7 separate regions of the Homo sapiens genome follow, and regions 1, 2, 3, 5, 6 and 7 are each linked to region 4. Evidence: promoter capture Hi-C in 16 types of primary human blood cells and fetal thymus (Javierre and others, 2016). All regions are on one chromosome and are shown on one strand. The core of a region is centred on a gene start or on the middle of the fragment in contact, and the rest is flanking DNA. Distances in the headings are between cores, read along the strand shown. Region 1 overlaps DCLRE1A (DNA cross-link repair 1A). Region 2 has its middle 29 kb from the start of DCLRE1A. Region 3 overlaps CASP7 (caspase 7). Region 4 holds the start of TDRD1 (tudor domain containing 1). Region 5 overlaps PLEKHS1 (pleckstrin homology domain containing S1). Region 6 overlaps ABLIM1 (actin binding LIM protein 1). Region 7 overlaps CASP7 (caspase 7).

What was found. The method cuts DNA at HindIII sites, captures the fragments that hold promoters and counts their contacts. A CHiCAGO score of 5 or more calls a contact.
Region 1: a contact is called between a fragment that was not itself captured here and the fragment with the promoter of TDRD1 in region 4, in 6 of 17 cell types (activated CD4 T cells, non-activated CD4 T cells, naive B cells and 3 more). The highest score is 5.7, in activated CD4 T cells.
Region 2: a fragment that was not itself captured here is called in contact with the fragment with the promoter of TDRD1 in region 4 in 3 of 17 cell types (neutrophils, monocytes and naive B cells); the score reaches 5.3 in neutrophils.
Region 3: a fragment that was not itself captured here is called in contact with the fragment with the promoter of TDRD1 in region 4 in 1 of 17 cell types (naive B cells); the score reaches 5.5 in naive B cells.
Region 5: a fragment that was not itself captured here is called in contact with the fragment with the promoter of TDRD1 in region 4 in 1 of 17 cell types (monocytes); the score reaches 5.8 in monocytes.
Region 6: a contact is called between a fragment that was not itself captured here and the fragment with the promoter of TDRD1 in region 4, in 1 of 17 cell types (naive CD4 T cells). The highest score is 5.0, in naive CD4 T cells.
Region 7: a fragment that was not itself captured here is called in contact with the fragment with the promoter of TDRD1 in region 4 in 2 of 17 cell types (fetal thymus and naive CD8 T cells); the score reaches 6.2 in fetal thymus.

The regions. Positions count from the first base shown.
Region 1 is chr10:113,842,107-113,845,566 of GRCh38, forward strand. It overlaps DCLRE1A (DNA cross-link repair 1A), which reads right to left. Exons shown (of 9, transcript NM_014881.5): 5 at 1,998-2,138; 6 at 237-382. Among named protein-coding and RNA genes, the nearest start is that of DCLRE1A, 10 kb to the right of the region's middle. The HindIII fragment of the contact is 4,432 bases long and covers 1-3,460 here.
Region 2 is chr10:113,823,728-113,826,803 of GRCh38, forward strand. No RefSeq gene overlaps it. Among named protein-coding and RNA genes, the nearest start is that of DCLRE1A, 29 kb to the right of the region's middle. The HindIII fragment of the contact is 3,104 bases long and covers 1-2,841 here.
Region 3 is chr10:113,713,573-113,717,044 of GRCh38, forward strand. The region is part of intron 2 of CASP7 (caspase 7); the gene reads left to right. Among named protein-coding and RNA genes, the nearest start is that of CASP7, 35 kb to the left of the region's middle. The HindIII fragment of the contact is 3,383 bases long and covers 264-3,472 here.
Region 4 is chr10:114,177,913-114,181,369 of GRCh38, forward strand. TDRD1 (tudor domain containing 1) reads left to right here and starts at 1,441. Exons shown (of 25, transcript NM_001395205.1): 1 at 1,441-1,504. The HindIII fragment of the contact is 8,256 bases long and covers 983-3,457 here.
Region 5 is chr10:113,770,546-113,774,002 of GRCh38, forward strand. PLEKHS1 (pleckstrin homology domain containing S1) reads left to right here. Exons shown (of 13, transcript NM_001395068.1): 8 at 1,425-1,544. Among named protein-coding and RNA genes, the nearest start is that of MIR4483, 5.8 kb to the right of the region's middle. RefSeq lists an enhancer at 2,069-3,268. The HindIII fragment of the contact is 2,413 bases long and covers 190-2,602 here.
Region 6 is chr10:114,523,625-114,527,136 of GRCh38, forward strand. The region is part of intron 6 of ABLIM1 (actin binding LIM protein 1); the gene reads right to left. Among named protein-coding and RNA genes, the nearest start is that of AFAP1L2, 120 kb to the left of the region's middle. RefSeq lists enhancers at 3,005-3,124, 3,295-3,512. The HindIII fragment of the contact is 2,440 bases long and covers 1,043-3,482 here.
Region 7 is chr10:113,693,005-113,696,139 of GRCh38, forward strand. All of the region lies in intron 1 of CASP7 (caspase 7), which reads left to right. Among named protein-coding and RNA genes, the nearest start is that of CASP7, 15 kb to the left of the region's middle. The HindIII fragment of the contact is 5,855 bases long and covers 1-3,135 here.

The sequences.
Region 1 (3,460 bases), core at 203-2,702, 340 kb before region 4:
ATTTCTTATATCTAGAAAGCCTAAATTAAACACAATTATCAAATGTTTCCCTAAAGTCAAACCTTTCAAAGATTAAATGTTTCAAACTGTCAAATTTTCCTTCAACTTCAAAGGTAATATTGAATCATTACAGGAAATAATTATCAAATGCAAGAGTAGAAACTGAAAGGGCATTATGCAAAAAGAATCTGATCTTTATAATATATTAATGTAAATTAGATACACCTACAACTCACCTAGGAAGACTTTCTCTTTTCCAATAGAGTAAGTGCCACAGACAACAAGAGCATGTGGGTTTAGAGTTACAGCCTCAAAGGCAGTGTTGATGGCAAACCGGATAACCTCTTGCTGAGATGGAAAGGTGTATTCTGGGCTACAATATCTGTGGTATGGAAACATGGTACTTACTAAAAGAACAATAAAAAAGCCATCACCTTAAGCTGGATGCTATTTTAGAAAACAAGCGTTAGCAACTTACATACAACAGCAATGTAATATATTAATACCACAAGTTATCTCACTGCCTGTGGTTGGAATTATTTGCCAGTTACTACTAACTTAAGATCAAATTGTAAGTTTTCAATATATCTTTTTCATTATATTTCTTTTATCACTCTCAAAAAATTGTCTTTTTGAAGACTTTTTTCCTCCAAGAATATTTCTAGCAAGCCAGCTATTTTAGTTATAAATTATAAACCTCACTGTCTTTTATTTAACTCCAAACACTATCAAAAAATCATATTGATAAGGATTATATTTGGACTAAAGACTGTCAATAAAAAATGATTAAAGTAATGAAACTAAATATGAATTTAGTGAAACAGTTTTAAATCAGTTAATATTGACATGGTTGATATTAATATCATTTCTTACAGATACAAAATATATATACTATGTGTATATATATGTACATGTGTACACACACACACACACACACACACACACACACACACACACACACAGATACATGCAAATACAACAGATCCAGTTGGGTCTATCTCCATGCAATATAACCCAGTGAAAAATTAAGCTACTATCTATCTATCTATATTTGATATGAAAAGTAAGCACTTTTTCACTAAAAATGTAATAAACTGCAAAAGCCAAAGAAACATATTTTTCCCAATTTTCAGAATTGTTTTGCTAGTCAACTACTAGAGAAGAGTAAGAATAACCTTTCTCCTATAACAACCCATGAGGAAATTCAGAATCGTATCAGAATAGAACTAGGTAACAAAAAAGGGTTTTTTTAAAAACTTATTTTCTTAATTTATCCAGTGCTTAAAACTCATATAGAAGAATGGAAAAACCAGTTATAGTGTGAGAAAACTGGATGCGGAAAGACCATCTTTTACTAAAATATTGCATCCAAACGTACTTCTCCTTGAAACAGGTTGAAATGGTTAAGATAATTTCTAACAAGTTGATGAGATATTTTAATATATAAAATCACATCATACACCAGAAATATATACAATTTTTATTTACTTAATAAAGCTAGGGAGAAATACATACACAGTTAAAATGTAATGGCTTGTGCCATTATATTTATAGCACTCAGGAATTCAAAACTGTCACTTATAAATTATCTTTTTAAGAAAAGAACAACAGCAAGTTTGGATACTCAAAAACAGAATCACATTTTGACCTCTGTCTTCTCTTCACAATTAATAGCTACACAGTTACTCTGAAAGGACAACTTAAAAGGGTGTCTTCCTAAAGTTTGCTCCTAAGTTTTTCTTCCTTGTTTTAGTAACAGGATTCTCATGTAACATATTTTCAAAAATAAATCACACAAAAAAATGAGCTGTAGTCAGTTAACACATACAATCTCAAATTTGCCCTTAAGCAAGTATATACATATTTTTCAAACAGCATCCCTCTGATAAAGAGCCTTAAAATAATAATTGGCAATAAGCCATCATTTTGATAACCATAATACAGAGAGCAAAGGCTGTCAGTGGGAAAAGGAAACACACAAAAAAAGCCTCTCTTACGTGGTATCTAAGTACAGCATATGGACTTTCTGGTCCGCAAGAAGAGAACGTTCCATGCTGGGATCTGCTCTGAAGTCTCCCGTGTGTAATATGACAGTACCATTAGGAAGATAAAAGAGGATCATGACAGCACCTGGACAGCTGAACACAAATGTCAAAGGAATGTTCATAACACAGGCAAGCACCTAAAGGAACAGTATCTATTTCAATATCAACAAGTTAGCACGCTTTATTAGCTGACCACAATGACATAGCATTGCACTACAGGAAATGCGGCACTTCAACTCAAGGAAATTTACATCATAAAAAGAACTGGTGTGCAGGAAAGGCAGACCCAGGTTGCTCAAACTCCAAACATTCCCAAGAAAAGCATGTCTTCAGGACTGGCCCTTGGCTGGCTCCTAGGAAATGAACTCTGAACCCTAGGAATATTATGCCTGGTAAGACTGTTTTGTATGCCTGAGACATTGAACTATGTGATACTAGCTTGACGCTAACTTTGTGATCTATGGTGAAAACCCCATAAAGTTGACTTTAAAAATCAGAACTCGGCCAGGCATGGTGGCTCACGCCTGTAATCCCAGCACTTTGGGAGGCCGAAGCGGGTGTATCACCTGAGGTCAGGAGTTCGAAACCAGCCTGGCCAACATAGCAAAATCCCGTCTCTGCTAAAAATACAAAAATTAGCCAGGTGTGGTGGTGTGCGCCTGTAATCCCAGCTACTTGGAAGGCTGAGGCAGGAGAATCACTTGAACCCGGGAGGCAGAGGCTGCAGTGAGCTGAGGCTGTGCCATTGCACTCCAACCTGGGCAAAAAAAGCGAAACTCTGTCTCAAAAAAAAAAAAAATCAGAATTCAAACTGGCAATTAAAAAAAAAAAACAGTAGCAAAGTTAGCAGACAAAAACTTAAAGGCAACCTAATGTAATAGCTTGGCCTGGATTTTAGGTAACCTAGATTTAGTCTTCTTTCTCTTCATCTATGACCTCTATGTTACAGTGGGCTAACATTCTATGGAAAGTAGAAAGAAGCAGAGTTGACAGTTGTGTTTTGACAACATGAATGCTGATAGTACTTTATATTAAAAGAAAAAAAGAGGGAAAAATGGAGGCCATTTCCAAGAAAAAAAAGTCTTCCAAACCTTTAATATCTAAAGCCTGAATGATTTCTTAGTTTAAAGAGGGGTAGGGGGAGATAAAACCGACCTCTAGTATCTGAATGGAATACAAGCTGTTAATTTATGTAAATGATAAATGATACTAAAGAAAATGGCAAAATGTTATCTTGCAAAGAACAGCAACAACATGTTAAAGTATTTTAAAAAATAAGATGGAATCTCAGATGTCAAGTGTAGTAATTTAAACTGGATAAAAAATGGGTTAGATAACATTTAGAAGATCCCTTTACTTTTCATCTCTGATTCTATAATTGGGCACATTATTTTTCAAAAGGAGAAACATCTTAC
Region 2 (3,076 bases), core at 40-2,539, 350 kb before region 4:
AAGTACTAGGATACAACCTGGAATAAGAATAGAGTTCTTATATAAAAGTCAAGACCTTGGAAACAAAAAGATAAGTTTCTTGGCTGCTTATCTATTCGCATGACATGTGAATAGCTGGGTTGTTTAAAACTCTATGCTTTTACTATGTATGTTTTAAAAAACTTGATCTTAACCAGGAATTATATAATTATAGACTCTGAGCTAAAAGTAACTCAAATAATTTATCAATTTCATTATCCAACTTTCAGAGAAGATCTATAAGAGCCTGCTGCAATTTTAAAGTTTAAAAACTAAAGATTTACATTTTATATATTCACATCAACACTTTTTAAAAATGACATTGCTTATTCGAGGTCAGCTGATGTTATCTACCTTGATATTTAAAACTCCCCTATCTCAAGTTTTCCATTCCAACTGACAATTATGAATTCATTTTCATTACTTTCTGCAATCTGGAGCAGTAACTGTCCTACCTGCACTGCATACAACCACTTCATGACACCTGCAATGCTGCTGTGCCTTTTAACTTTACCCTATTATTAATTCAAATAATTCTCATTGAAACAAAATTGTAGGCTTCCCATGATTAAACATCATAATCATATAGCAATTCAAGGCCAAAGTCTATAAAACTATTTTGCTTGGGTTTAAATAATACATTTTAGAACATCCATTTAATTGAGCTTTCTATACATTGTTCCCTTTCAAAACAGTTAGTGAAGAGATACTCAACATCAGTAGTCATTAGGGAAACGCAGATCAAAACTACAATGAGATACCACTTCACACTCACCAAGATGTCCACAAGCAAAAACAATAACAAGTGTTGGTGAGGATGTGGAAAAAATGGAACTCTCATACATTGCTGGTGGGAATGTAAAGTGATGCAGCACTTTGAAAAACAATTTGGCAGTCCCACAAAAAGTTTAAAGTTACCATATGACCCAGCAATCCTACTCCTAGGTATATATCCAAGAGAAATGAAATGTATATCCACACAAAACCTTATACACCAATGTTCATGGCAGCATTATTCATAATAGCCAAAAAGTGGAAACAACCCACATATCCACCAACAGATGAACGGGTAAACAAAATGTGGCATTTTCAAGCAATTCAATATAATTTGGCCATAAAAAAGAATGAAGTACTGACACATGCCACAACATGGACGAACCTTGAAAATATGCTAAGTGAAAAAAGCCATGTGTTATATAATTCTATTATAAGAAATGTCTGGAACAGTTAAATCCATACAGGCAGAAAATTAGTTGTTGCCTAGGACCAAAGAAGGCAGGTGGTAGGGAACTGGGGCATGACTGCTAATGGGTCCAGGGATTCTTCTTTTTTTTTTTTGAGATGGAGTCTTGCTCTGTCACCCAGGCTGGAGTGCAATGGCGCGATCTCGGCTCACTGCAACCTCCACCTCCCAGGTTCAAGCGATTCTCCTGCCTCGGCCTCCCGAGTAGCTGGGACTACAGGGGTGCAACACCACACCCAGCTAATTTTTGTATTTTTAGTAGAGACGGGGTTTCACCATGTTGGCCAGGATGGTATCAATCTCCTGACTTCGTGATCCACCCGCCTCAGCCTCCCAAAGTGCTGGGATTACAGGCGTGAGCCACCGTGCCCAGTCTAGGGATTCTTTTTGGATGATAAAAGTATTCTAAAACTGATTGTGGTGATGGTTGCTCAACTCTGTAAATATAATAACAACCAATGAGTCGTACAGGTTAAATGTGTGAATCGTATGGTATGTGAATCATTTCTCAATAAAACTGTTTTAAAAACATTTTAAAATAGAGTTTGGGGGCCGGGCACACGCCTGTAATCCCAGCACTTTGGGAGGCCGAGGTGGGCGGATCACCTTCGGGAGTTCAAGACCAGCCTGGCCAACATGGCGAAACCCCGTTTCTACTAAAAATACAAAAGTTAGCCAGGCATGGTGACGTGCGCCTGTAATCCCAGCTACTCAGGAGGCTGAGGCACGAGAATCGCTTGAACCCGGGAGACAGAGGTTGCGTGAGCCGAGATCACGCCACTGCACTCCAGCCTGGGAGACAGAACAAGAATCCGTCTCAAAAAAAAATAGAGTTCAGCACTCTCCACAGATAAAAGATACTAATAAAAAAAACTGGCTGACTTAGCAAACAAGGATATTTGGGCTTTATTCCCTGCTTCCAGATACTGTTGCTTTTAGTTTATTTTACAATTTTATCTGTTTATCCCATGTGATATGTAATCAGAGCTCAGGGCTTCAGCAGGAAATTTGTAACAGTCCTTTCAAACAAACTTAAAAAACAGTTTAGTAACATTATCTAATGGTGTATTAAAGCCCTGCTTTGATGCCATTTTATGATCTTAAGCACTTGCTTTCCATGTTGAAATAACAGAAGGGCTTATACAGATAATGAAATTTGACTTCGCTAAACTTCCTTTTCCTTTGAAAAAAAAAAAAAGCCTATCATATTTGGGACAAAGTGGTGTTTCTGAATCTCTACATAATCTACTATAGTTCTACCAGGATTTAAACCCCGCAAATTCAGTCTGAAACGCAGAAGTAGCACTTATGTAAAACCAAGTTTGATTTAAATCAAATAAGTTGTTTAAAGATCAGTCCAATTCATCACTTACGACTTTACATACCGTTTTGTTTCTAAATTAGTTTCCTGTGTGTTCTATTTCACCAACTAGATCATACAATTTCAATCTACCCTAAATCTCAGGCTTCTCAAGATATGAAACCACACAGATTAATTTCTTAAGTATTTTATATATATTAGCTTTTGTCCAGCCTCCTAAGGAAACTCTAAATTCCTTAAAGGCAAGGACCTCGTCTTAAGCTTCAACACTTCACAGAGACCCCACAACTGAAATGTGTTTCTCAAGGTCTAAGGCGTGACCTTAGACTAGTCAAGCTACAATAATATACTGTATATATTATTAAGGTATGTATATATGTGTGTGTATCAAGTTTATATCTATATATCTTTATACCGCTACCATCTATTTTTCTTTTATACTTCATTTCCAACACATAATATGTTGACTACCCCCAAATCTTTAAGAACTCCCA
Region 3 (3,472 bases), core at 705-3,204, 460 kb before region 4:
CTTCAAGTGTCTCTTTATGCAGATACGAGCAAATCTAAACATATTTTCTTTTCTTCTTTTTTTTTTCCAAAAGGTAGCACACTGCTGCCATTGTTCTGCAATTTGGTTTTGTTCTGCACTTAACACGACTTATTGGAGATTGTCCCACATCAGAACATAAAGAGGTTCCTCATTCTTGTTTACTGTACTGTGTGATTTTGATTAAAGAACCCTCCCTTTATGATCCAACCTGGTTATTATGGGAGCGAGTGACTAATTGAATAAGCTTATGTCTGCCAGATAGCTCTTGTAATTGAAGTGTGCTATGAAGGTTCAACACTGGAAATGGGAGAGTCAGGGGAAATGAGGGAAGAAAACTTATTACTCCAAAAATGTTTCCAGGTAGTATTAGGTCTCCCACCTGAAAGAAATACTCAAGCAAGAGTTGTCCTGCGTTCGGGCTGCCCTAAATTAACTCCCTCTCAGAAATCTGTTCTCTTCCTATATGTGAGCTTTGAGCCTAATGAGGCTGTACCTAATGAGTGTCTCTGCAGCAGCCTTGCAACAAGAATTGGCAAAATGGAAGTGCGGGTACCAGTGTGCCTGCCCCTCCCTCACCTGCCCCTGACATGTCCTGCTGGTCACCAGGCAGGACGGCAGCTCCATTTAGCTGATCACCTAAACAGAGGTGGCCCAGGGCCTCTGACTGTGGTGTTTCTTCAGCACGAAACGCTCTTCACTCATTCACAAAACACTGTTGAGCACCTGCTATGTGTCTGGCACTGTTGTAGAAGCTGGGGGAACTGCAGTGAAGTAGTCCAGGTCCTGCCCTCATAGAGTTTACACTCTAGCAGGAGACAACATAGCTCTGTAATTTGAGGTCAGGTGATGAATTTAAAAATTAAAGCAGGGGCCGGCGTGGTGGCTTACACCTGTAATCCCAGCACCTCGGGAGGCCGAGGTGGGCAGATTACCTGAGGTCAGGAGTTCGAGACCAACCTAGCCAACATGATGAAACCCCATCTCTACTAACAAAATACAAAAAAAATTGCCCGGTTATGGTGGCGTGCACGTGTAATCCCAGCTACTCCTGAGGCTGAGGCAGGAGTGGGAAGGAAAAAGTGGATATAATAGGGGTAGTAACTCATGTAGGCCCTGTGGGCTGTGGTCAGGACCCTGGAGTTCCTTCCCAGCATATGGGAAAACCACTGGATGGCTCTGGGCAAGGAACTAATCTGACTGGATTTATATATTTTTTTTTTTTTAAATACAGGGTCTCCGTTGCCGAGGCTGGAATGCAGTGGCGCGATCTCGGCTCACTGCAGCCTCTGCCTCCCAGGCTCAAGTGATCCTCCCACCTCAGCCTCCCAAGCAGCTGGGACTATAGGCGTGCACCACCACGCCTGGCTAAAATTATTTATTTATTTGTTTGTTTGTTTGTATTTTTTGTGGAGACCAAGTTTCTCCCTGTCGAACTCCTGGACTCAAGTGATCTGCCCACACTGGCCTTGGAAAGTGTTGGGATTACAGGCACGAGCTACCGCACCTGGCCTTACCATTTTATTTAAAAGCTCACTTTGGAGAGAAGCCAGTTAGGAGGCAATGGTGGACAACAGGTCAGAAGATGATGTACCTTGAGCGTTCCAGGGTCCTGGCCTGAGGGAGCAAGCAGCATGATGCCCAATGAACTAGGGTTGTTGTGTGCAGAGACAAGAGACCCAGGGATAGTGGCCAGCTCCACCGGGTGGGAGCCATCGTGGGTGCCCTGGGTCCTGCCATGCCCTGTGATCCTCCGCAAGCAGGTCTGAGCCGTGCAGGGGAGAGCTGCACCAGGACTGGGGCCGACAGGCCAGCAGGGACACCCTGAAGGCTTCAGAAACCCTGGAACGGAGTTTCACAGGGAGCCCTGGGAGGGCTTTAAGTGGTGATGGTGGAATCTGATTTTTGTTGTTGTTGTTGTTGAGACAGTCTTGTTCTGTCACCCAGGCTGGAGTGCAATGGCATGATCTCGGCTTACTCAAACCTCCGCCTCCCGGATTCAAGTGATTCTTCTGCCTCAGCCTCCCGAGTAGCTTGGGATTACAGGCACAAGCCACCACGCCCAGCTAATTTTTGTAGAGATGGGGTTTCGCCACGTTGGCCAGGCTGGTCTTGAATTCCCTACCTCAGGTGATCTGCCCGCCTCAGCCTCCCAAAGTGCTGGGAATACAGACGTGAGCCACTGTGCCCAGCTTGATTTCTCTTTTTAAAGGAACGCTCAGGCTCACAGGAATCTTGGGTGAACGTTACCCACTCTCCTCTTCCATTCCCACATTTCTCTTATCCATTGGCTTTGTTCTGCCCAATCTTTGCCAGTCTGTCCTCTTGGCTCCTCAAGCCACATGGTAAAACATGGCGGCCACCAACTCTCATTTTAACCACCTTGACAGAATGACTCTTTTTCTCAATTTCAATTCTCAAATTCCCAGGGAAGAGGGCTGATTGACCCAGCCTAGGGATCAGGTGCCCCCTGGACCAATCAGTGGTGGCTGCAAGGTCAAGGGGACAGGATGGCAAATCACTTTCTACCAATATGGTGGCTCTCACTGTAGCCTCAAAGGGAGAATAGGGATGAAAGGGATTTAATCCCCAGGGGAAAGAAGGTGCCTTAAAACATCACAGCTTAGGTGGAAGCCTAATCTCTTGGACTCTCATTCTTGCAGAATATATCTATAAGCAGTGGACTTTTAGTCCCTCTCCCCTTTTTTCTGGTGCTTTCCTCCTGATGCCTTCTAGACAATCATTTGCACCTTTTCTTTGTCTGTCTCCAGTTACATGTTTTAATCATCGGGGTTTGCTTCCTCAAAGTTAAGCTATGGATGGAGTTTTCCCAAGGCCAGCTCTTCTTAGGAGGATGAATTGAATTCATCCTCCTAAGAAGAGATTGAATTGATAGTCACTCACAAACACACATCTGTGGTCTGGGAAGATGTGGGTTTAACAAAAAGCTATTTTGGTTAGAAGGAAAAATTAATATTGACTGACTCAAATCCAGAAAGAGGAAGCAGATACCAAGTTCATTTTGAAAAATAAGAGTTCATTTTAGGGGCAGACTAGCTAAGCTCTTTTGCTTAGAAGGAGAAATTAATATTGGCGGACTCAAATCCAGAAGGAGGAAGCAGATATTAAGTTCATTTTGAAAAATAGGAGTTCAATTTAGGGGCAGGCTAGGTATCACCCTTTTGAGATATTTACCAGGAGTGAGGACCACATTTCATATTCAGTTGTAAGGTACTTTTCATAACCATGGACAGTGTTTTCTTAAAGTGTTTCTCTTTCTTCCCCTATTGTGTTCTTTTTATGTAACCAGTTAATTTTCCAAATTTTATTCTGATAGAACCAGAGTCCTTTTATTTTTTACATAACATATCTAATTCTGTTTTTCTCTTAAAGGATGCTTGCTGGTTTTGTTTTGTTCATCACTGAGGATGAGCTAATGACAGCTTTTAAAACA
Region 4 (3,457 bases), core at 191-2,690:
ACCTCCGCCTCCTGGGTGCAGGCGATTCTCCTGCCTTAGTTTCCCAAGTAGCTGGGATTACAGGCGCCTGCCACCACACCCAGCTAATTTTTTTTTATTTTTTTATTTTAAGTAGAGACGGGGTTTCACCATGTTGGCCAGGCTGGTCTCGAACTCCAGACCTCAAGTGATCTGCCTGCCTCGGCCTCCCAAAGTGCTGGGATTACAGGCATGAGCCCCCACGCCCAGTCAGCACTTTCATTTCACTATTCTGTAAATCTGAAACTGCTCTAAAAAATAAATTTAAAAGACACATCAACTAAAGAAAAAAAATCAGGCTTTTAAAGAATTGAAGTTAGTGAAGTTAGTTTTATTCAGAGTCTTACTGAGGACTGCAACCAGGGAGAGCCCAGAGAATTTCTGTTAAACTACTCCAAAGCAGTGGGTCAGCACACTTTAAATATTAGGTGGTAGAGGTTCTGCCCAGGGGTTACATTAAAAGTGCCCAGAAGCTATATAAGATCAAAATATTTTCAAAGTTTGGGTGCGAGAGTAAGTCTAGGCATCATCATTAATCTTGTCCGTTAGGTACAGAAAAAGGCAAGGCCTAGATCTCTGAAAGTATCTTTTCTAAAAATGCAGTGACTCTGAGAGGTGGGAACCTGAGTTCTCTCCGCAGTCTTCAAGGCATTCTTCTGGAGGGCTGAGATGTTACTAAGTCAAGGGGTCTGAAATGCTGACAAACACAGTGAACAAACGTGGCTTTTTCACAGTGAGGGAGGACTATGCTGGGGGCCAGAAGCAGACGTTCGCTACTTTGTCTCACATTTACAATTCTCGGATTTGCTTCAAAACATTGCCCGAAGAGTGCCTGGGCTGCAGATGTAGACAAGATTAACCATGAATTGATAAGGTAGAAACTAGATGATAGGCACACAAGGGTTCCCTTATGAAATTGTTAGAAAAGTTCCATAGCAAAAAAAAAAAAAAACAAAACTTAAAAAGCTTGTCTTTAAGTAACACCAACAGGTATAATCACATGCCCTCAGTCAGGAAGCAAAGAAAAAAAGTATGAGCACGTGTGTGTTTACTTTCCAAGACCAGGCAGAGGCTGTTGATTATTTGGAAAACCTTGGAAGACCTTTAAGTGGCCACGGTGACCCAAGTGACCTTCGAGGAGACAAAGTCTGCATCTTTGCGCCCAAATTTGCCAAAGGCGTTGCCAGAGACATCTTTCTAGAAGAAGCTAGAACAAAATAAAAGTTTCTGCAAAGGAACTTTTTGAGCCTGTAACTAGAGCACAAGCTGCTTCCGGGGAAGGCGGAGGGAACACGTGGGCACATTGAGTTGCACGTGGACGCGGAGTGCGCAGGCGTGCGCTGAGGCCAGGAGGGCGCACTGGGGATTGGAGGCGAGGGAAGTGCAGGGCGCATCCCAGGCGGCAGGGCTCCCAGCATCGGCAGTCGCCATCACCGCCAGACCGCAGAGACAGGTTCGGATCCGCGGTCCTCTTGCCTCTTTCCAGGTCAGGGTTCCCAGGCGTATAGGGGAGGGAGAGGGCCTGCATGAAGGGGAAGGGAGGGGGCTTCGGTCGTTGGGGGCCAGACGTTGGGCGCTGGACGTTGAGGTTGGGCGTTGAGCGGGTACAAGGGGCCTGGAAGTGGAGAGAGGAGACTTGGAACCTTGCTGCGAGGGTTTGGTGTGGGAGGATTCTCTGAGTTTGGAAATAGCGCTTCCAGGCATCACTCCTTCAAATGCAAACGTTCACCTTCTCTCTAAGAGAAACTTGCATGTGGATTCAGTGCCTTCGTTTGACTAAAAATTACGATACAAACAATATTAACATTTACTAGACTTTTTTTTCCCTACTTTCCTCCTATAGGAAAGGAAGATGTGCTAGGGCATTTACTTAGATGTGGGTCAGCTGGCGCTAGTTTGTTTAAGGAGTTCCTGCTGTGTGCCAGTAGCTTTTCCGGGCCCTAGGGTCCTTGCTATAAATACGTTAGCCCTGCTGGGCTTCTGAACTAAGGGAGCTAAATGCTTCCAGCTTCCTTAGTGAGGCAGCACGGTGCTGTATGCTTAAATCCAAGGCCGTGGAGTCTGACCTGCGTTTTTATCTAAACTGTGTAAGGTGCTGGCCCTGGGTGGTTTGGTAAGTTATTCCAACTTCCCACGTCTCCCTTGTTTATCTGTAGGAATAACGAAATAAAAATACTTTAGTCCTCAAATTATTTTCATCTTAAGCCTGCAAGCTGGTTCCACAGGAATGGAAGAAATTTTGTGCTTGTAGGAGTGGTATAAAAGTAAAGCAGAAATAATAGCTGCCCTTTAAGCCCTTAGGAAGTACTAGCCACTGTGCTAAGTGATTTACTTCGTCTCTCATTTAATTCTCGTGATTAGGATTTGTGAGGAAGTTAACTACTGCCCTCTGCATTTTACAGTCGCTGAATCCTAGAAAGATGAAGTGATTTGCCCAAGATAGCGTGGCTAAATGAGGAAGACGAGACTTACCTGGCTGACTTAAGAGCTCATGCTTTACCGAAGCGTTGCGTTTTGTCTGTTTAAAACCGGAGTGTTTTTGTTTGTTCTTTGAGTAAGAGTTTCACTCTTGTTGCCCAGGCTGGAGTGCAATGGCGCGATCCCAGCTCACTGCAACCTCCGCCTCCCGGGTTCAAGCGATTCTCCAGCCTCAGCCTTCCTAGTAGCTGGGATTACAGGCCAGCCACCGGCGCCCTGCTAATTTTTGTATTTTTAGTAGAGACAGGGTTTCACCATGTTGGCCAGGCTGGTCTCCAACTCCTCACCTCAGGTGATCCGCCCACCTCGGCCTCCAAAGTGCTGGGATTACAGGCGTGAGCCACAGCGCCCAGCCAAAACCGGAGTGTTTTCTTTGAGTAGAATGGTTCTTGCAGAATACATGGGGTTGCCAGGAAGACAAAAGCAAACATCAGAGAAGGAAAAAAATGACAGCTGAGTATCTGTGCATACACTTTTGTTGTTAAAAGAACTCCAGCCTGTGGTATCCTAGAGGGAGAAGAAATGACTTACCCCACTATTCATAGTGTATCTTAGGAAGCCCCCAGCAACATCAGGGAGAACCGATAGGATTCCAAAGAAAAGAGAGGGTCTACCCTTAGGGAGCTTCAGGACTTAATGGGTTCAAAGCGTGAAGTACAGAACAAAGAAATCCAGAAAGCTGAGCCCTCATTTTTGCCTGTAGAACTATAGAAATGAGTCACTTTCAGTCCACTACTCTTCTAGTACATCAGTGATTCCTAATTCTGAGAAAATGAGGTACTCTTTAACGTAGAGAAATGTTGAGACCCTTCTAGTTAACCTTTTATGTTAGCTGAATCAACATTTAATTACTGTGGATTCCAGAATGATTAAATATATTTCTATTTATCACTAGTAGCATGAAAAAATAGTAGATTGTATATAGGGGGAATTATTTTAAAACTGGGTGAGGTTAGCCGAT
Region 5 (3,457 bases), core at 146-2,645, 410 kb before region 4:
TTATCCATTGACTTTACCCTGTCCATGTATACCAAGCACATCTAATGAGTCCTAGTCCCTTGTTTTATCTAGTTGGTAGCTCTCCAACTATTTTGAAAGCTTTTTGTAGCATATCAAATTCACCATGCCAAACACCTCACCTCAGTTCTTCATTTAGCGAGTAGAAACGGTGGTATGCAGCAGTTAGGAAGCTTCACCCTTGTCTGTAAGTGCCTCTTGCTTTTCACTCATGATATCTCCCTCCCCCTAGAGATAACATTATTGGTCACTTTGCCTTTTCACACTATAGATCCAGTGATTTTTAAACCAGCTCGAGTTAACAGTACTGTTTGCCTTGCTGGGTGGTGTTGTTGTTGGTTAAATTAAGTGGGCTGCCTTTACCCCCAACTCAGCATGATCCGGCTCCATGAGCTTGGAACTTAAAACATGGACAGAACTTAAACACACCTGTATTTTAAAACTTGACTTTTTTTCTAGAGAACATTCAGGGTCTTTTCCAAACCCCCTGCTCTGAGGCATTGTTCTTGGAATTTTTCTGCCATGCAAAGAAGCTACTTTAGTAGAATATTCTGTATCTATGGGGAAGGGGAGGCAATAGTGGTTGAATCTAGATCACCTGGAAACCCATAATTCATACTATCATATGATCAACACAACCAAATTCCATTGCTGTGGAAACAATAGAAGTGTGTGAACAGAACACAAAAGAAAAATATGGAGCAGGAACAGGAAAGGTGCAACGCCTTGATTCTGGGTTAATTACATTCTTAGATGGCACTGGATGATTACAGGAAAAAGATGAGGGTAGCAACTCCAGAGCTTAGTGACTTAGAATGCTACCCACAGGGCTGGTCATGGTGGCTCATGCTTGTAATCTCAGCACTTTGGGAGGCTGAGGCGGGTGGATCACGAGGTCAGGAGTTTGAGACCAGCCTGGCCAATATGGTGAAACCCCATCTCTACTAAAAAATATACAAAAATTAGCTATGCATGGTGATGCGCGCCTGTATTCCCAGCTACTCAGGAGGCTGAGGCAGGAGAATCACTTGAACCCAGGAGGTGGAGGTTGCTGTGAGCCGAGATCGCGCCACTGCACTCCAGCCTGGGGGACAGAGTGAGACTCTGTCTCAAAAAAAAAAAAAAAAAAAAAGAATACCACCCACAGGAGAAAACCACTTGTTCTGAGTGACTGTTCCAAACGGTAGAGAAAAAAAGCCTGAGTGATGTGCTTATATGTTTTCATCCTCAGTGGTGACCCAGACTCAAGAGGCAAGTTCAAGTTGTGTGAGCTTCTGGATGTAATCTTGGAAGACCCTCTGGTCTTTTTTAACCCAACTAATTTATTACGGCTTTTCTAGAATGCATGTGATTTAATTCTATCTCTTGCAAAGAAAAAGCAAAGCATTTTTATCTCTTTTCTTCAGCATTTAATGGAACAAAGTTCTCCAGGATTTAGGCAAACTCACCTACAAGATTTATCAGAAGCCACTCAAGATGTGAAGGAAGAGAATCATTATCTTACTCCTCGAAGTGTTCTTTTAGAGGTAACCCCTTCTTGTCCATTCATCATTTGTTTCTTTAACAAATATTTACTGAAACCCTGCCATGCACTTTTCGTGCAATATTAGGCTATGGTCAGTGGGAACACAGAAGTAAATCAAATACAGATGACGTGCTCATGGTGCTGACACTTGACTAGGAGACAGCTGTAATACAAGACAGAGGGTTCTATGCTGAAGAGAGATGCTTATAAAATACCAGGGGTGCATGAGCTATGGGAGGAGGAGATGACTTTCAAACAAAAGATCAGGAAGATTTCAGGGACGAGATGACATTAGGCCATACATGATGAGTAAAATTTGGATGTGGGGGATTGCCTTGAGGAGTCTTTCTGCATTCTTAGCAGAAAGAATAATATGAGCCAAGGTCCTTGGGTGATCAGTTGTGTGCTGTGTATCGATCAGTCTATTGATCAGTAGGAAGCCCTTACTGAATGCCTTCTGAGCACTAGTCACTGTACTGTACTGGGCATGGTGGCTAAAGTAATGAGCCTGACATCACCCTGCTGTCAGAGTGCATAGTCTTGTCAGTTACCACAGGATAACGCTGCACAAAAGACGTGGTCCGTGTGCTCTGGAAGCAATAGAAAAAGAACAGATTTTCTCTATCAGAGTCAAGGAAGGCTTCTGGGATGAAGTGCCATTTGATACATGTATGGGGAATAGTTCAGTGAGGCTGCAACCTAGAGTGCGTGAAAGGCATAGTGGGAGATAAACAGAAGAAAAGGGCCAGCCCATGATGGGTCTTGAATGCCAAGTTGACTTCATTCTGTAGACAGCATAGGGGAAGCGATGGCTTCTGAGTTGGGAAATCTCAAAACCTGAATTATCCTCCATTAGTATTAACTGAGCAGCTATATCTGCCATGGACTATAGAGAGAAGAGAATGGAAGTGAGAGATAGGAAGACAGAATGGAGGGTGGGAATGCTGCGTCATTTCCCAAACTGGGGGTTTTCCGTAAGATGGTGACGTATGTTTATATAAAAGAAACATTCTGGGGTCAAATAAGTTCCGGAAACACCCAGTTAAAATAAGTTAAACAAGCTTCTTAGCAGAATTCTCAGAGCATTTAGTATGCAGTGGTGCATTGTAAATAGTCAAGTCAGATACAACACATGGCATTTCCCAAGCTCCTTTGAGCACAGAGTTCTTCTTTCACCAAAATATTTTCATATTTCTGTTTCCTGGGATGCAGTCTTTTATGATAGTTCAGCCAACCAATCAGATGTGTACTGAGCATCAGTTATAGGCCTGGCCTTTGCTAGGTACTTTATGATAAGTAAAGTCTAGTAAAGCAGACAAAACAGCTAAAAAGACCAAAGATAAATAAATAAATAAATAAGTAAAAAAACTATGCAATGGAAATTGAGAGAAAGGAGAGCTCTGCCGTAGCTGAGGTGATCAGAGTGGGCTGTGGGACTTCAGCCAGGCCTGAACATGATTTCAGTAGGCCGAAAGGAAAGATGGCACTCGAGGTGAAGAAGAGAGCACGAACATGGCGATGGAACAGCACCATTTGCAGGGGGCCAATGGGAAGACTGGCTTGACTGGAAGGAAGGTTTCCATCATGGGTTAACGGTGAACTTAGGTAGGCCTTAGGGTTTTTGAGCAATCATTGCCACAAGTGACTCTCTTTGTTCTAAGGGGGCTATGGAGAGCTTCCTAAGGGCAGTATTTTTCTAGAACATTGCAATGTCCCTGAAGCCACTTGGGCTGCCTGTGAGCATAGTAACCTGAGACCAGCTTCACATTGTGTCAGAGTCTTTGTCCCAGCCAAGTGCCATGATTCTATAGTAGAACTGATTGGGGAAATGCTTTCATGTCATTAAGTGCCGAATGGTGAAACAGAAAGATAAACAGCAATTTAGCTCAATAGAAATAACACTTGTATCCGGAG
Region 6 (3,512 bases), core at 1,013-3,512, 350 kb after region 4:
GCATCCTTCAAAGAGTTTTCTGGTAGCCCCTCAGACATTAAAACCTGCTTAGATGGTGACTGGATTTGTCCTCTTTAAAAAATTACAGAAATATGGACACAGGCTGCAGACATGTGGCTTGCTGACCAAGCTCCTGGGTGGTCTTTCCATAGAAATCATTGACATTCATTTGTCTGTTCATCAATGACTGAGCAAATAGTATGAGCAGGCACTGTGCTATATCCTGGGGGCAAATAGACCTAAAATGCTCACATTTGCTGCACTCAGGGATCTTTGGTCTACTGAATGGGGGGAGAGGGTGAATTTTAATTACGAAGAACTGTTACTTAGAGAGCACATGGTGTGTGTCACATTGGTACCTCCAGGTGGAGAGAAATGCAAGATTTGCTTTGCAATCAAAAGCAGAAACCACAGCTCTCTGATAACATTATGGGCCAGTCCAGGTCTGTCACCAAGAATAGACTTCAATAAGTCAAGGTGTTTCCCTATCTGTTCAGCCAATGCTAAGCACCACTAAGCACTATGCAGTGGTACATCTCATCTGGTTTGGGTGGTGGTGGTAGCTCCTGGAAGTCACGGTGCTCAGTGCAATGTACTATATTCTTGGAGAAACACCAAGAAAAAGCAGCACTCGCAGCTTCATGCATTTTGTAATCTGTAAACCTTTGAGAGCAAACAAGCAGTAGCATTAATGCTAAAGGTGTAAGAAAAATTTTAAACGGAAAAAATCCCAGCCATTGACTTCATCGTTATCTGTAAATTGGAAAAAAGCTGTGATTCTTCAATTGCACTCACAAAACAAGGCCCAATTCCTAAAAAAATCAAAACAGTTTGAGACCCACTGGTACAGATGGCGAAAAGAAAAAAGAAATGAAAGCATTCACTTGCAGATTCTAGAAGAAAAAAAAACTAACAGGCATGGCCAGATTTACTAAAAACCCACATTACAAACAAACAAACAACAACAACAACAAAAAACTCTATATTTACAGAAGGGAAAAGTATGGGTAACTATTTGCTTTATAAAATGGATCACTGTATAAGCTTCTTTTTAAAAAAAGACAAAATAGTATATCCCCAGAATGCACTTTAGAATTCAATTGAAAGAAGTTTGACTACTATACCAATCATAGCACTGTATAAAATAAGTCCCACAAGGGCACAGAAGGAAAAGGGGGCAGAAGAATGTATATCCGCAGCAAGTCCTTGAATCTGATACCCCATTCCCAAGATGTGATTTCAGACAAAACCCAAACAAAATAAAAACCAAATGGTCAGGCAAAAACACCTGTCCTGCCACTGTTCCTTGGACCCCGCCAGGCCTCCCTGGGACTCCAGCCTCCTCTCATAGACCCTTCCCCCTCGTTGGCAGCAGTAGGCCCCAAGACAGGTTTCCCTCTAGCAGTGATTCCCAACCAGGGGCATTTTGCCCACAGGGAATATTTAACAGTGTCTGAAGATATCTCTGGTTCTCACAGCTGGGGAGGGAGTGCTACTGTCGCCTGGTGTGTAGAGATCAAGGATGCTACTAGACATCCCATAGACAGTCCCCTGCAACAAACTATAATCCCATCCAAAATGTCAATAATGCTGAGGTTGAGAAACCCTGTTCTACAGGAGCCAAAATCATGACCATCCCTCCAGAAAGTCAGGTTACAAGAACTGAGTAGTTCACTTTCTGTCCTTTTAGGTGAGCTATTGTTTAGTTGAAGAGAAAAATCTGCAGGCTTCTGTTGTCAGGATATAATATTCCCTGAGCTTACTGGATAAGCCACTGATGCGAGGATTAGACTCACTGACACATGAAAATGCTTAGGCAACCGCCTCGAAAACATTGGTCAAAACATTCTAAGTGTTATAAGGGATGCTTGGCAAGGCCTCACGCTTAGTCTTAAAAAGCCTTCTCAAAAGTAATTTATACCAATGAGCCGTGGCAAATTCACCTATTCTATAAGTACGCAGTGACTCAACAAGCCTTTTGATCCATTTATAGAATGGCAACAATTATATTTTAATGAGTTATTTTCACTTACTTGTCAGAACCTGTTTTGGTAATCTAAATAACTTCACATCCTCTTAACATTCCTTATGAGGCTGTCTGAGAGAAAAACAGGCTCAGTTTTCTTTTAAGTCTCCAATCTCAGCTAAGTGACAAATGAAGCTGCTATAGCGACCACACTCCTGCTGGCTTATGGCCAAACTCACGTTTTCTTTTTTTCTTTTCCAACATCATAAATCTATTTTTTTCACAGATGAAATAACTTTCTGGTCCCATTTCTTCTTTCATGCTAGTATAGCACATTTTAAAACACTTTCCCCCCAAAAAAAGTCTTTACAGTATGATTCGATTAATAACTGGGTTTTTAGGAAAACTATTTTCAATATAAAGGCCAGAATCTCTAGATTTCTTTTACTGCATATCAAAGGTGGAAAGAGAGGCAATTGTCAAGCTCTTTCAACCTAGAGCCGCAATAAAACATGAATAACATCTAAACATTTTGTTTCCTTATTTTCATTTATTGGGTATTTCTTAAAGAAAAAAAAATCTCATAATTTACAGTAATAGCTAAATCTACTCATTCCCACGTGCCACTTCCACCACCAAATCCCCCAAACAGGACTCAAATGTAAATTTCACAGAGCTCTACAAACCACAGACAAAACAAAACAACCCCAAAGTCTGAAAACCACAGTCTCCTTTCAATCTTGCGGGTAGCAGCCTAAAAAAACATAAGCCTTGTTTAAAAGGTCAACGCACTACACTTCTCAGTGAAATAAATAACCAGCCTTTCCTGCCCTTCAGTCTAGTTCTGTATCGATGAACAAAAGCTCCTGTCGTTTCTTTTGTATCATCAGGAAAACAAAAAGTTTACATAAATGTATGTCAGGGCAATAAAAGTGACTTCTGTCGCCAGCATCCAGCCACCACATTTGGAGGATCCGAGCGGCCTCCGACCTCACGAAGGAAGCCAGAAATCTCACATCTGCCACGCAAAGCAAAGGACATAGGTCACCTTGTGCAATGTCCGCTTTACCTCAGGCCAGGGTTCCTTTTCTTCTAATTCTGTTCCTTGGCTGTGCTGAGCAGAGAACTCCTCCAGGCTTCAAGTTCAGAACACGGCCAAGAGGCTTTGTAGATGCCAGACCTCAGCCCGACAGACTGAGGCTCCCACCTGCCTGGGTTACATATCAGGCTTCTCTCCGAAGCTCGGCTAAGGCAACGTGCATCCCTCTAGAGACGCACTCCGGAAACCAGCCCCGTGTGCGGCGGGCAGGCACGCTCTCTCACGCCTCCTCTCCTCGCTTTACTTACTAGTTCAACACACCAGCAACCACAATGGGCCAGTCCATGTTCCCAAAAAAGGAGGGGGAGTAGATTTACTTTCTTTCTTTTTTTAAATGCAGGTAGGAAAGTACCATTTCTTTGCATTCACTCACTATTGTCTGCATGTGAAACCGACAGTGATTGTCCCTGAGGCATAAGCTTGTACTGAAACGAGATTCTTAGGCTT
Region 7 (3,135 bases), core at 184-2,683, 480 kb before region 4:
CAGTTTTCCTATTAAGTTCCTGTGTTGCTTCTTGGAAAAAAGTACACAGCATGAATCTCTACACACTATTTTATCTTCCCAAGTGAGAGAGGCATGCTAACAATGCCTCCAATCTGCCATCTTGGAAAAAAATCAGTTGCTTTTCTTTTGCTGCTTTCAAGATTTTCTCCTTATCTGTTTTGACTCTTACCAGTGATTGTAATGTGTCTCAGTGAAGACCTATTTATGCCCAATCTGTTTGGGGTTCTTTGGGCTTCATGAATCTAGATGTTCCTTTCCCTCTCCAGATTTGGGAAGTTTTCTGTCATAATTTCTTTAAATAAACTTTCTACCCTTTTCTCTTTGCTCCTTCTGAGACACCGATACTGCATATATTGGTTCACTTGATGGTGTCCAATAAATTGCATAGGTTTCTTCACTCTTTTTCATTCCTTTTTCTTTTTGTTCCTCTGACTGATTAATTTCAAATGATCTGTTTTCAAGTTCACTGACTCTTTCTTCTGATTGATCAAGTCTACTGTTGAAACTCTCAATTGAATTTTTTATTTCAGACATTGTATTCTTCAGCTCCATAATTTCTGTTTCGTTCATTTATTGGTTTTTATTTCTTTGTTGAACTTCTCATTTTGTTTATTTGTTGTTTTTCTGATTTCATTTATTTGTCTGTCTGCTCTCTTGTTCCTCACTGGGCTTTTTTAAGATGATTATTTTGGATTCTTTGTCAGGTAATTCATAGATCTCCATTTCTTTGGGATCAGCCACTGGAGCTTTATTTTGTTCCTTTGGTGGTGTCATATTTCCTTGATTATTTGTGTTCTTTGAAGCCTCGCATTGTGTGTTCACACTTGAAGAAGCAGTCACCTCTTCCCGTCTTTATTGACTGGCTTTAGGAGAGAAAGACCTTTGCCAGTGAGCTTAGCTAGAGATTCTGGGGATCTCTCACACTTTTTCTCTAGATATACCTGCTCCACACCTCTTGTTCCCTCTTTGGGATTATATGTGTTCTCTCAGTCCTGCAAAGGCAGACCTTGTGCTAAAAGCCTCCTGCTTATTCCTTAGGGTAGTACCCTGAAATGTTCAAAGTTATATGTCTTCTCTCAATCCATCAAAGTTGAGCTGGCTGCTAATATCCCTACCTGCTGTTGAGATCCAAGCATTGTCTGTGGTTGTGTACAGACTGTTGTGCACTGAGGTACATATCAGCTGGTTGAAGGGGTACATAGGCAAGTTGTCCTGCAGGGTTTATGGGAGGGACTTAGGGTAGCATCCATGAGCTGGGTAGCAGAATCTATAGCCGGCTTTTGATAACCATACACTATTTGCACTCCTGCTGCTGCTTCTCCTTGCTCCTGGCTGCCCCAGACGATTCAGCCGTACTATTCCCCTCAGTGTTCTGGGTGGGATGAAACAGAAGTGGGTCTCCTAGACAACATCCTTTTGGGCTGGGAAAGCTGGGTGCTCACTTCACTCTCACTTCCCCCATGGGAGAATTGTGAGCTGGAGGGACCTCTCTTGGAACTGAGCTGTGCCACCTTAGGGGAGGGGTGATGTGGGTAAAGTGAGCTGCTCTTATTATACTCTTTGATGCATCCACTCTTCGATTTTTTGCTCCACCAGTGTGCTGAAACCTCTCAGTGGACTCCTGTGGCCTCACAAAAGTATTCTTGTCCATAGGTGTAGTTGCCAAAATCAGTATTTCTATATAAGAATGAAAACTGGAACCTCCTATTCCGCTATCACACTGACATTTCTTCTTTCTTTTAAAAATAGTGGTTATATTGTGTTGTCATCATATACCCTAGATTGAGCCTTTAAGATTAACTTTAGCAAAAGGGCCAACTTGATTAACACCACATATCAAAGTTAGTGTCTTTGTCTGGTGGATTTTTTTAAAACTTTGACTTACTAGTTTTGAAAATATGTGAGTGTGTATTGTGTTAATAACAGTCTATATTGGAAAGTAACTAAGTCTATGTAAAGGAGACAAGAGAGGCTATCAGGTATTTTCTGCATGTGTGGCCTTATGCTTATCTCCTCTGTGAGTTATCTCCATTTTTGAGAAACTTTGGGTTCTAATCTGAAAAATCTGCCTCCCAACCAGAAACACATTGGTGATGATGAAGGGAGGCTCATGATGTGTTGAGAAACAAGGTGACCATCTGACTTCCCATGGTCATTGTAGAGACCTGGCAGTAGGACTTTCCCTTCTTAGCTCCCTCCCCTCTTCCCAGTTCACCCTCAGATAAGCTGGAAGGTGACACCATAATGCCATTCGGAGTGCAAGGCCACTAGGTTGTCACTTTGCCTCCTTGGACACCTCCTTCTGAACTGCATTCCTTCTCCCCACCTCCAAAAGTTATTACTTGTGCTCAGCGGCACAAAATATTCTGTAAAGTAGATGCCTTCTTGTTTTCCAACTTAATGACAGCATCCCTGGGTGAGCCCTAACTGGAATACAGAACTGCACCTGACAACCGCGGCCTGCTCAGTGAAGTTGCTCAGGGATTGTATCAGAGGCATTTGAACCGGAGCAACTCCATATTGAATAGGGGCTGGGTAAAATAAGACTGAGATCTACTGGGCTGCATTCCCAGGAGGTTAAGGCATTCTTAGTCACAGGATGAGGTAGGAGGTTAGCAGAAGGTAGAGGTCATAAAGACCTTGTTGATAAAACAGGTTGCAGTAAAGAAGCCAGCCAAAACCCAGCAAAACCAAGATGGTGACAAGAGTGACCTCTGGTCACCCTCACTGCTCATTATACACTAATTATAAGCCATTAGCATGCTAAAAGACACTCCCCCCAGCACCATGACAGTTTGCAAATGCTATAGCAATGTCTGGAAGCTACGCTATATGGTCTAAAAAGGGGAACTTCCTTAGTTCCTGGAATTTCCCACCCCTTCCTTGGAAAACTTGTGAATAGTCCACCCCTTGTTTTAGCATATAATCAAGAAATAACTATGAGTATCCCTAGTCCAGCAGCCTAAGCTGCTGCTCTGCCTATGGAGTAGCCATTCTTTTATTCCTTTACCTTATTAATAAACTTGCTTTCACTTTACTCTATGGACTCACCCTTAATTCTTTCTTGCGCGAGGTCCAAACCCTCTCTTGGGGTCTGCATCAGGACCCTTTTCT